Linked DNA regions of Homo sapiens: region 2 is linked to region 1. The links are contacts of gene promoters, found by promoter capture Hi-C in blood cells and fetal thymus (Javierre and others, 2016). All regions are on one chromosome and are shown on one strand. The core of a region is centred on a gene start or on the middle of the fragment in contact, and the rest is flanking DNA. Distances in the headings are between cores, read along the strand shown. Region 1 holds the start of PDZD9 (PDZ domain containing 9). Region 2 overlaps VWA3A (von Willebrand factor A domain containing 3A).

Region 1 (5,786 bases), core at 2,127-4,626:
GAGATCTGTCAACCTACCACCCACCCGGTAGGCGGGGAATAGTCCTTCAGTCCTGACCGAGGCAGTGTAGTGCAGCATTTGCAATAGTGCCCACATGGTGCTGTGCCTCTCATTTGCTACTTAAGTTTGGAGAGCAGCACTTTCAGGACCCTGGGGAATCTTTTCCTGTGGGAAACATATAGAGGAGGGTTAGTGGGAACTACAGCTCCTGCCGCCGCTACAGCTCATCTAGAGGCATAACGAACATACCCTTCAGTCCCCTCTTCTATCCATCCTAGAAACCTCTTCCCTTCTGCCAGCACCTCAGATGATCTAGGTGGCCTGCGTGATGGGGTGGTCTAGACCTCCATCCTTAGAGAGCCTGAGCACCTAGTTGCTGTGCACTTCTCAGGCAGTGGTTGCTGCATTTGTCCATTTACTGTCCAAATAGGGCAAAGGAGTACTAAGAGACACCTAAATAGATCACGTGGGTGCCCAATGTTCCTCCCTGCCCTGATGTGAAGTCTCAGCCTGATTCCTTCCCGGTAATTGAATACTCTTGTCTGCTTTCTCCCCCTGGTATACCATCCCATTTACTGCCTGTAAAAAATTAGCCATCTTAGAGTTTCCCTCTGCCAGAGGCTAGCTATGCTCCTCCTGTACCAGGGATGGGCACCTCATTATTACCTGGGTATTAGGTGATCCATCCTAGCATCTACTCTTTGGAAGAAGGAATAAAGCAGGGTCCGGGCGTGGTGGCTCATGCCTGTAATCCCAGCACTTTGGGAGGCTGAGGCGGGCAGATTACCTGAGGTCAGGAGTTTGAGACCAGCCTGGTCAACATGGTGAAACCCCTGTCTGTACTAAAAATACAAAAATTAGCTGGGCATGGTGGTGGGTGCCTGTAATCCCAGCTACTCAGGAGGCTGAGGCACGAGAATTGCTTGAACCTGGGCAGTGGAGGTTGCAGTAAGCCGAGATCACTCCACTGCACTCCATCCTAGGCAACAGAGTGAGACTCTCTCTGAAAAAAAAAAAAAAAAAAAAGGAATGAAGCAGGACAGGGCAGAGGGAAAAGTAAGGCTGCAGTGGACCACGTGGGGAGTTCTGAACCTGGGATGGCCCTGCATTGACCAGTCACCAGATGCTAGTTAATCTAGGAAGGTGAGATCTTGGGCAAGGCGTTCTTTCCAGCCAGTAGTAGTAGTGAGGGTGGGAAGTGTAAGTCTTTCAGCCCTGAAGGGGGATCTGGGCAGCACAGCACCCAGGACAGTTTGTATCCTGCAGTTCCACCAATCAGTGTGACCTTGGCTTACTTGGCTTGGTGGAGTGTAGAGACCTCCGCTTTAAAGACACTTTTTAGCCTGGGGTGGAGGGAAGACTAAGGGGAGGCCAGGCACTGATATGCTCCATCACAGAACCATATATGCTGATGGGCTCTATTCCCACAAACTCTTACCCTTCCCCTGCTGGTAGGAAGATGGAGGAAAAAGATGTATTTTATGATAGAATTAAGTTGGTATCTATGTAGACCCCTGCCAGACTGTTTGGAAGAGGAAAGGTGACCTGTCACAAGAAGTCACCCACAGGAGACTTGAGGTGGAGAATAGCCCTTTGTACTGGTCTCTACGACACAGGTTTTATCTAATGAGAAATCTGTCCTGGCGCTCACGCCTGTAATCCCAGCACTTTGGGAGGCCAAGGCGGGTGGATCACCCTGAGCTCAGGAGTTGGAGACCAGTCTGGCCAACATGGCAAAACCCTGTCTCTACTAAAAATACAAAAATTAGCTGGGCGTGGTGACACAGGCTTGTGGTCCCAGCTACTCTGGTGGCTGAGGTGGAAGGATCGCTTGGGCCTGGAAGGCGGAGGTTGCAGTGAGCTGAGATTTTGTCACTGCACTCCAGCCTGGGTGACAGAATGAGACCCCATCTCAAAAAAAAAAAAAAAAAAAAGGAACCTAAAGAGGAATCTGCCCTGGCTTATTGTCTGTGTAGAGCCACAGAAACAACAGAATAAGCTTGGACATAACCAGATCTACCATGGAAATCTTTGCACAGTGCCTGACACCTAATAGGTGGTTAATGACTGTTTGTTGAAGGGATGGGGCAAGGTGCTTAGCCTCTCAGTTTCATCAGACCGGGGATAACACCAGGGCCTACCTCATTAGGTTTTCTCTTTCTTCTAGAATTTACTAACTCATTTATTCATTTTTATTTTTTGAGACAGGATCTTGCTCCATCACCCAGGCTGGAAGGTGGTGACTCAATCATAGCTCACTGCAGCCTTGAATCCTGGGCTCAAGTGATCCTCCCATCTCAGCCTCCTGAGTAGCTAGGACTACAGATGTGCACCACCATGCCCAGCTAATTTTTAAATTTTTTTTATAGAGAAAGGGTCTCACTATGTTGCCCAGGCTGATCTCAAACTCCTGGGCTCAAGCAGTCCTCCTGCCTCAGTCTCCTGAGTACCTAGGATTACAGGTGTTAGACACCACACCTGGCCTAGAATTTATTTTTAATAATTTATATTTTCCTAAAATTGTCCACTTCATCTGTTTTTTAAGTACAGGTTTCAAGAGGATAGAGCCTGTGTTTCTGTGTTTGTCTTGCTTACTGTTGTGTCCCCAGTATCAGTAAATGACAGAACAGCTCCCTGTAAATACTTGTTGTATGAGTGAATGTGTGTGGGAGGAAGAATTATCTTGGAAAAAAGAAGGAAGCATTAATAGTGCCTCTCCTAATAGTGACTCATTTTTTTTTAGGCCACCCTGGGGCCTTTTCTTATTCAAAACATTCATGAAAAAAAGTGCAGTTCCAAAGCATTGGAGCTACTGATGTAACAATTTTTTTAAAATACCATTATTAGAAGTGCAGCGGGGGATTCTCTGATCTTCTAGGTATTCTGTGATCTCCTGTGATCTTCTGGCTGTGATCTTCCTCTGCAGACCACCTCACATCTTTGAGACACCCTCCTCTGTGCCTTCTCCCCCTCCCTATTTCTTAGGTTCACCAAGAATGAATGAAGAAGCCAAGCGCGGTGGCTCATGCCTGTAATCCCAGCACTTTGGGAGGCTGAGGCGGGCAGATCGCTTGAGCCCATAGTGCAACAGTTGTGTTGAGCCTGAGCAACATAGTGAGACCCCCACCCCCTGCCCGTCTCTTAAAAAAAGAAAAAGAAAAGAAGGAATGAAGAAACCACCGTGGGTCAGGCACGGTGCTAACCTCTGCAGAAGTTTCCATACAGTACAATGGTGTGCAATGCCCACGCCACGTTTTGCAGGGTCCACGGGAAGCCTTGCGGCGACCTCACTGCCGCCCAATTTCTGGGCAGTGGCGGCGCAGCGCCCCCTGGCGGCCATCCCGAGGGCAGTGCCCGCGGGCAAGGTTCGAAACTGTTGGCATTGGGACTGACTCCAGCCTCTGCTCCGGGAGGCCCTCCCGGGCTGCCTGACCTCCCGGGACCATGCAGAAGGCCTCCCACAAAAACAAAAAAGGTAACTGGGGAGAAGGAAGCGGGTGAAGAAGCCCTGGGGACCAAGCCTTCGTCAATGTTCCTCCTCTGTAAAATGGCAACGGTGCACTCTTGGCCTGGGAGATAACCTCTCTCCATCGTTGTTGTTATCATCATCATCATTATCATCATCATCATCATCATCATCATCATCATCATCATCATCATCATCATTTGAGAAGGAGTCTTGCTTTGTCCCCCAGGCTGGAGTGCAGTGGCGCGATCTCAGCTCACTGCAACCTCTGCCTCCCAGGCTCAAGTGATTCCTCTGCCTTAGCCTCCCGAGTAGCTGGGATTACAGGTGCCTGCCACCATGCCCAGCTAATTTTTTATTTTTAGTAGAGATGGGATTTCACCATGTTGGCCAGGCTGGTCTCAAACTCCTGACCTCAAGTGATCCGCCCGCCTTGGCCATCGTTATTTTTATCAAGGTATAATTTCCATGCAGTAAGATCCCCCCTTTTAAAAGTACAGCTACCGTTTTGACAAGCTATACCCACGTTGAACCACCCCCTCCATCAAGATAGGGAACAGTTCCACCACTCCCTAAAATTACTTTGCAATGCCCAGTTGCAGCCAAACCCCACCCCACTGCAGCTCCTCACACCCCCATCTGTTTTTTACAGCGTTTTTTTTTTTTTGCCTTTTCCATGGAGAACATCATAAAAATGAAATCACATAGTAAGGAGCCTTTAAAAAATTATACCAATGTAAATAGGGACTTTGGCCCTTTCATTTTTATTAAAAGGGCACATAAATCTTAAAATAGCATATGGGTCACTGTATTTTATTTTTAGAGACAGAGTCTTGTTCTGTCGCTCAGGCTGGAGTGCAGTGGTATGCTCCTGGCTCACTGCAGCCTCCAATTCTTGGGCTCAAGCAATCCTCCTGCATCAGCCTCCCATAGCTGGGACTGTAGGCATGCACCACCACATTCAGCTAATTTTTTTTTTTTTTTTGAGACAGAGTCTTGCTCTGTGACCCAGGCTAGAGTGCAGCGGCATGATCTTGGCTTACTGCAACCCCCGCCTTCCAGGCGGGTTCAAGCGATTCTTGCCCCTCAGCCTCCAGAGTAGCTTGGATTACAGGCGTGAACCACCACGCCTGGCTGATTTTTGTGTTTTCAGTAGCAACGGTGTTTCACCATGCTGGCCAGGCTGGTCTCGAACTCCTGACCCCAAGTGATCCGCCCACCCTCGGCCTCCCAAAGTGCTGGGATTACAGGTGTGAGCCACCATGCCCAGCCTAAATAGAAGAGATGAGGTGTCACTATGTTGCCCAGGCTCTAATCACTTTATACTTCTGCTAGCCCCCAGGTGGGCTTACTGAAGGATGCAGACTCCTGCACTGAGCAATTCTTGTTCTTTATGGCTTTTTTCCGCACAGCATCAGGATTTGATAAGACTTGAGGTTGGCAAAGAGGCTGAACTAGGCAGGCAGGTGCCAGACAGCCTTAGGCTTTTTCACTGCAGGGCTGTTGTCATTTGGACTGCTTGTCCTTGGGAAGGTTGACATTGCTGTCTGACTAGCCTTGTAGCAAAACCTGTAAGTCTTTCATATTTTAGTCTGGTGCTTGGGGTCTGGCTCTCCGAGGACCATAGTGCTGCCTCCTCCACCTGGTTGTCCCCAAACACAGCAGCTCACTCTTTTCTGAGCTCACCCTTTTCCAGGGAGGAAGCATTGAAGATCTCACTTTCAACAGCAGTAGGATCATCTTTGTCAGTACCTTCGGGTTCCAGGGTCCCTGCCACTGGGCCCTAGCGAGCACTTTCCTCAGGTTTCATGTCTAATAGTTCATCCTGAGCATGCACTGTGTGAAGAGCCTTTGCCTAAAACACATAAAATACCTTTTCCATCTTCAGTGTTTTCCTTGTCGTGGTTTTCATCCTCTAATGAAATTAATTGACTCAGCTCCTGCACTGTTACATCTGTGCTTTCCTGCTGGGTGAGCTTCTTTTCTTCTTTCTCAACTAGTTTTTTCAGAGGGTTTTGTAAGTGCTTTAAAGTAGTGACTTCATATGGCTGATAACCTGTGAAGCTCTCATGGATGGCTGCCATAGTGTGAGAAGTCTTCTCTCCAAAATGAAGCAGAGTGGTCTGGTATGTTGCTAGCATTTGAGACAGGAGATTGCATGTATTTACTTGCTCCAAGAAAATCTACATCCAACTTCACTTTGTCAAGGTTTTTTTCTCTCTCTTTTTTTTTTTTTTTTTTTTTTTTTGAGATGGAGTCTTGCTCTGTCACCCAGGCTTGTAGCTGGGATTACAGGCATGCACCAACATGCCCAGATAAT
Region 2 (5,786 bases), core at 1,028-3,527, 120 kb before region 1:
TAATTTCTACTTTCATTCTTTCACTTGTCCTTTATTCCATTTTGTCATCTATCCTTCCATTTTCCCTTTTACCCTTCCACCTGTTCAGATTTCTATCCATTCACCCATCCATGCATCCATCCATCCATGCATCCATCCATCCATCCATCCATCCATCCACCCATCCATCCATCCATCCACTCATCCATCCATCCATCCATTCATCCACCCACCCACCCCCCCACCCATCCATCTATCCATCCATCTATCTATCCATCCACTCATCCATCCATTCATCCATTTACCTATCCATCCATCCATCCATCCATCCATCCATCCATCATTCTTTTCCTTCTTCTTGCCATCCTTTCTTCCAACTACCTTCTCAGCCATCCAGTAAACATGCATTGATTTCCTACTTATACTAAACATGGAGGATAGAGAGTTAGAGAAGAGTTTGCCCTCTTTATACTTCATACTTGATGGGGATTTAAATATGTAAAAATTCATGCATTAATCCTTTATGGGAGCAATTGCAGAAGTCTGCATTAGGTACAGCGAGGACATAAAGAAAGCAAGTCTGTCCTGTCTGAGTTGGGAGGAGAAAACCTTCATGGAGGAGGTGACCGTGGTACCTGATTTATCCCTCTTGCCTCATCTCCCAAGTTCAATTTTCAGATCTTTGAAAACCAACAGCTACAGTGGATTTGATGTGCATTCTAGGGTCCTGGGTGGGAAGCCTGAATCCCTGGTGATTCTTACTGCCAGAACATTTATGAAGGTAGGAAAAGCCACAAGGGAGCTCTCCTGTGGAGGACTGGAGAGAATTATGAATCTGAATTACCTCATGGATGGTCGATGATACTGTTTTCTGGAGAATAGGTACAAATTCCTCCACAGGAGAGAATGCATTGGGTGCCAGGACCTGATATAGACTTAATTTCTTGGCTGAAAAAAAAGTGTGAGGTTGGAGGCACTGCCTGAGAAGCTCCAAAGGGTTCAAGCCTTTTATTTTTTTGAGACAGGGTTTTGCTCTGTCACCCAGGCTAGAGTGCAGTGGCACAATCATAACTCACTGCATCCTCAAACTCCTGGGCTCAAGGTATTCTCCTGCCTCAGCCTACCTGAGTAGCTGGGACTGCAGGTGCATGCCACCACACCCAGCTAATTTTATTTTTTATAGAGATGGGGTCTTGCTATGTTGCCTAGGTTGGTCTCATATCCCTGGCCTCAACTGATCCTTCCTTCTTGGCCTCCCAAAGTGCTGGGATTGCAGGTGTGAGCCACTGTGCCCGGCCGGATTCAAGCCTTTTAGTCAGTCACCTGTTTCCTGGGTTCTGCCCTCTTTGGAGATTTACCTTTCAGACCATTGACCTTAAGCCACTCTGCAGAAGTCTTGTCCAAGTTTGGAAACTCAATGGTGAGAGGAGCGTCATGCTTTGGGGGTTTAGGCAAGAGGCTTATGAGTGGCCCATTTGTAATCTCTGTGGAAATCTAAGTTAAATGAGAAAGCCCTCATTACATAATCATATTTTAGAGCTGAAAAGTCCTCAGTCTTCACCCTCCACCCAGTCAATGCAAGTGGAGCTTCTTAAACACTCCCTGGTAGATTAAAGGCAGTTTTGCCTTTCCCTTCCATCATCCCCTCCCCTTCTCTGCAGATTTCTGGAATTTCCAGGGGAAGAGGAAGGAGTACCCAGCAACTCGCTCTCACAGTGGCCCATGCTCCTGGCTCCTTCCCTAACCTTACCATGAAGATCAGCACCATGGACTCCAAGGTGACAGGTCACCCCTAAAAACTCCTGCAGCAAATCACTTAGTGAGCTCCCACCTGGCCACCCTGTGGCCACATTGACAAAGTAAAGAACTGAGGCGCTGAGAGATTAAATTACATAGCGAATGTGTAAGTAAAAATAGAACAGCAAGTCCCAAACTTCAGAGATTTGAGCACTGCCTTCATGAATTTTGCTATATCTGAGTGCTACTGTATTATTATTAATATTTTAAGAATCAATATGTAACATTAATGCTTTTTAGTTATTAATTTTCTTTAATTTTAAAAATTCAATCCCTTTCACAATTTTAGAAAGAAGATCTATGATGACCATAATGAGCTAGTTTTAAATAGATACCATTTAAAAAATAATTTAATCCATGCACCACCTAAAATCATCTTGCAAACTACAAGTAGTACATGCACTTCATTTTGGGAAACTCTTGGCAAGGTTTTGGGCCTTAGACCTGGGTTCAATCCAAACTCAATCTATTTCTATCTTTGCAATCTCAGGCAAGTTATGTAACCTCTTAACTTTGGTTTCCTCATCTATAAAAAGTAATAACATACTTACCTCAGAGTGTTAAGATAAAGCATTTAAATAATTGAACATTGTGCCTATCTCATAATGAGGACTTAATAAATGAGAACTATTATAATTTTTTTTTTTTTTTGGGAGTCTTGTTCTGTTACCCAAGATGGAGTGCAGTGGGACTATCTAGGCTCACTGCAACCTCTGCCTCCTGGGTTCAAGAGATTCTCCTGAATCAGCCTCCCATGTAGCTGGGATTACAGGTGCCTGCCACCATGCCTCGCTAAGTTTTGTATTTTTAGTAGAGACGAGGTTTCACCATGTTGGCCAGGCTGGTCTTGAACTCCTCACCTCAAGCGATCCACCTGCCTCAGCCTCACAAAGTGTTGGGATTACAGGCATGAGCCATCACACCTGGCCAAGAACTATTATAATTCTAATACTAATTGTTATTATTGTATTTGTATATTTTTAAAATTCTTTTTTGAGACAGGGCCTCGCTCTGTTGCCCAGGCTGGAGCACAGCAGTGCCATCATGGCTCACTGCAGCCTCAATCTCCCAGGTTCAATCATCCTCCCACCTCAGCCTCCTGAGTAGCTGGAACTACAGGCACATGCCATCGTGCCTGGCTAATTTTTTAATCTTTTGTAGAGACGGTGTTTTGCCATGTTGCTCAGGCTGGTCTTGAATGCCTGGACTCAAGCGATTCTCTGGCCTTGGCCTCCCAAAGCACTGGGATTTCAGGTGTAAGCCATGGCTGAGGTGAGAATGACTCTCTTAAAGGCAGCCTATTCTGGGTGGTTGAGGTTTTCATCATTCTCCAAACTGGGGGTAAGGGAGGGGACAGTGACAGGATAGAGAGGGTGGCAGGAGCCTGCTGGTCTTTCTCTGAAATAAATTTTACAGTTAGTAAATCCACCAGAATCTTTCCGGTACCATGGTGGGCCCACCCAGCCCACCCAACTCAGAGCTCTGGGGTGCAATGGAGGGTGGGCCTTGCCTTGTTTCGATTTTAGGAAGTGACAGGCACTGGCAGCTGTGCCCCCTATGAACAGGTGAGAAAGGGGAACGAGGCCAGCTGAGTGCTGCTGGGAGAAGGCCCCAGAATTGACACTCGCACCACCTACCTCCTCCATGGTGCAGGTGAGCGCCTCACAGGGGCTGCTGTGCTGCAGGGCTTGCACGTGGCTGAGGAGGCTCTGGGCCTTCTGAATTTCTGCCAGGAGCTCATCCATGTCCCGGCTGGTGTAGTGCTGAGGGTGGCAAGAGCAATCAGACATCCGGAATCACTTGACTACCTGCAGGGGTCAACCCAGGAAGGGGCAAGCAGCCAGGCCAATGCCCAGGCAGAGGGTCAGACTCTCTCCACCAGGCCTTATACACTGGGACCCATGTGCCAGACAGAGCCTGCAGACATGCTGTGCTCCGTTTGTGCAATTGGCCTGTTGTGTTTTGTTTGTTTGTTTGTTTTGATGGAGTCTCGCTCTGTCACCCAGGCTGGAGTGCAGTGGCACAATATCGGCTCACGGCAAGCTCCGCCTCCTGGGTTCACGCCATTCTCCTGCCTCAGCCTCCCCAGTAGCTGGGACTACAGGCGCCCGCCACCACGCCCGGCTAATTTTTTGTTATTTTTAGTAGAGACGGGGTTTCACCGTGTTAGCCAGGATGGTCTCAATCTCCTGACCTTGTGATCTGCCCGCCTCGGCCTCCCAAAGTGCTGGGATTACAGGTGTGAGCCACTGCACCCATCCTGACCTGCTGTGTTTTAAAACAATTGAAGAGTTTTCTAACTGTAAAAGTGTAAAGAAACACTTTACACGCACTAGGATGGCTATAATAATAATAATAATTTATTTATTTTGTTATTATTTTTAGAGAAAGGGTCTTGCTCTGTCACTCAGGCTAGAGTGCAGTGGTGCAATCATTGGTCACTGCAGCCTCAAACTCCTGAGCTCAAGTGATCCTCCTGTGTCAGCCTCCTGAGTAGCTGTGACTATAGCCATGTGCTACCACACCAGACTAATTTTTAAATTTTTTGTAGAGATGGGCTGTCACTATATTGCCTAGGCTAGTCTCAAACTCGTGGCCTCAAATGATCTTCCTGTCTCGGCCTTCCAAAGCACTAGGATTACAGGCATGAGCCACCATGCCTGGTCAAGCCACAGGTTTTAAGATAAAATATTTCTTAAACCAGTCAGTTTCAGTCATTTACTTTACCTTTCTAACCTCTGTAGTCTGAGTCACCTGCAGAGAGAGTCTAGATGATGAGGTATCAAGATAGAGTGCTGCCTGAGCTTGGCTCCCTGCTATGAAAAGCAGGGACCTTGTGACCTTTGAATTCACTTGTGAGATGCAAACACTCATTTACTCATGGTTATTAATGGTAGGCAAGACACAGCCTGGGAGCAACCAGATGATTGCATTCTTAATCTTCCAAATGGATCTACACACATGTTTGCTAATCGTTGCCTCCCTTGTGAACACAGGGTGGCTGATGTCTAGTTATTAACTGGGACAAGGACAGTAATGGATGGATCGGTACAGAATGGATTGCTCATTTCGCTCTGCAGTGGGTTCCCTGCAGTAGCAGGAGTTGATCTAGGAGAGAAAATCGAGGCAATTCAGACTTAGTGCTTTGGTGGGAGCAGAGCTAGGCTGGGGCCTATATTAACGGCAACTGGAGTGAGACTGAGGATTCTGCAGGCAGGGCTTTAAAAGGCCTCTGGGCTCCCACGCATTCAATCAATGCATCATACAGGCTGATCAAAGCATCTCTTGTGACTTCAGGTTGTCCCTGGTCTTCCCACATATTCATTCTAACCTGATTTTACCTGTGTAACCTCATTGAATACAGGTGGGGACAAGGAGAAAAGGAGAAACAAGTATATAGTATGGTCCTGGCCCAGATCTCCTGGGTACAACCTTGGAGGCAGACAAGGAGAGAAGAAGAGGGGCCATGTGTTGACAGAAGGGCTTACCTCCATCTTTGGGCTGTAGCAGTGGTAGTAGCCCCTAACAGCTTCTGCAAGGTTCTTCAGGACAGCCTGCAGGGATGAGGCCAGGGTCAGGCCTCACTAGGGCAACACCAATACTCCAGTAAGCCTTCTCCTTGACTGAACCTCCCAATTATCCAAAGCTTCCCATTTTACCAAAGGGAGAACCAGGCACAGGGACAGGTGCATTCTGGTCCACAGCTCGGGGGCCTGTCCAAGCATGAGGCCTCAAAGGCCAGCCCAGCTCACTACCACCAAAGCCAAGGGGCACCTCAGAGAATCTCGGGCACTCACAGGGGGCATCTGATCATCGCATCTGTAGGTGATGAAGTGGATGATGAGGTCTCTTCCCATGGTGGACTGCTGGATGTAGTCAGACAGGATTTCAGAAGGCTGATCTGGGCTGTGGAGAAGGCAGAAGAGAAGTGGAAATCCCAGGTCAGACCACTTTGAGAACATTCCAGAGCAAAACGGTAATTCCCAAGGAACATCTACCCATTCTTAACT

Evidence for each region. The method cuts DNA at HindIII sites, captures the fragments that hold promoters and counts their contacts. A CHiCAGO score of 5 or more calls a contact.
Region 2: a fragment that was not itself captured here is called in contact with the fragment with the promoter of PDZD9 in region 1 in 3 of 17 cell types (M0 macrophages, M2 macrophages and M1 macrophages); the score reaches 11.0 in M0 macrophages.

Annotation. Positions count from the first base shown.
Region 1 is chr16:21,998,706-22,004,491 of GRCh38, reverse strand. PDZD9 (PDZ domain containing 9) reads left to right here and starts at 3,376. Exons shown (of 4, transcript NM_001363519.1): 1 at 3,376-3,475. The coding sequence starts at 3,445. It also overlaps the pseudogene LOC100420536. RefSeq lists an enhancer at 3,181-3,230. The HindIII fragment of the contact is 4,622 bases long and covers 2,002-5,786 here.
Region 2 is chr16:22,116,655-22,122,440 of GRCh38, reverse strand. VWA3A (von Willebrand factor A domain containing 3A) reads right to left here. Exons shown (of 34, transcript NM_173615.5): 10 at 5,574-5,682; 11 at 5,265-5,330; 12 at 3,414-3,539; 13 at 1,338-1,473; 14 at 824-927. Among named protein-coding and RNA genes, the nearest start is that of VWA3A, 27 kb to the right of the region's middle. The HindIII fragment of the contact is 6,294 bases long and covers 1-5,424 here.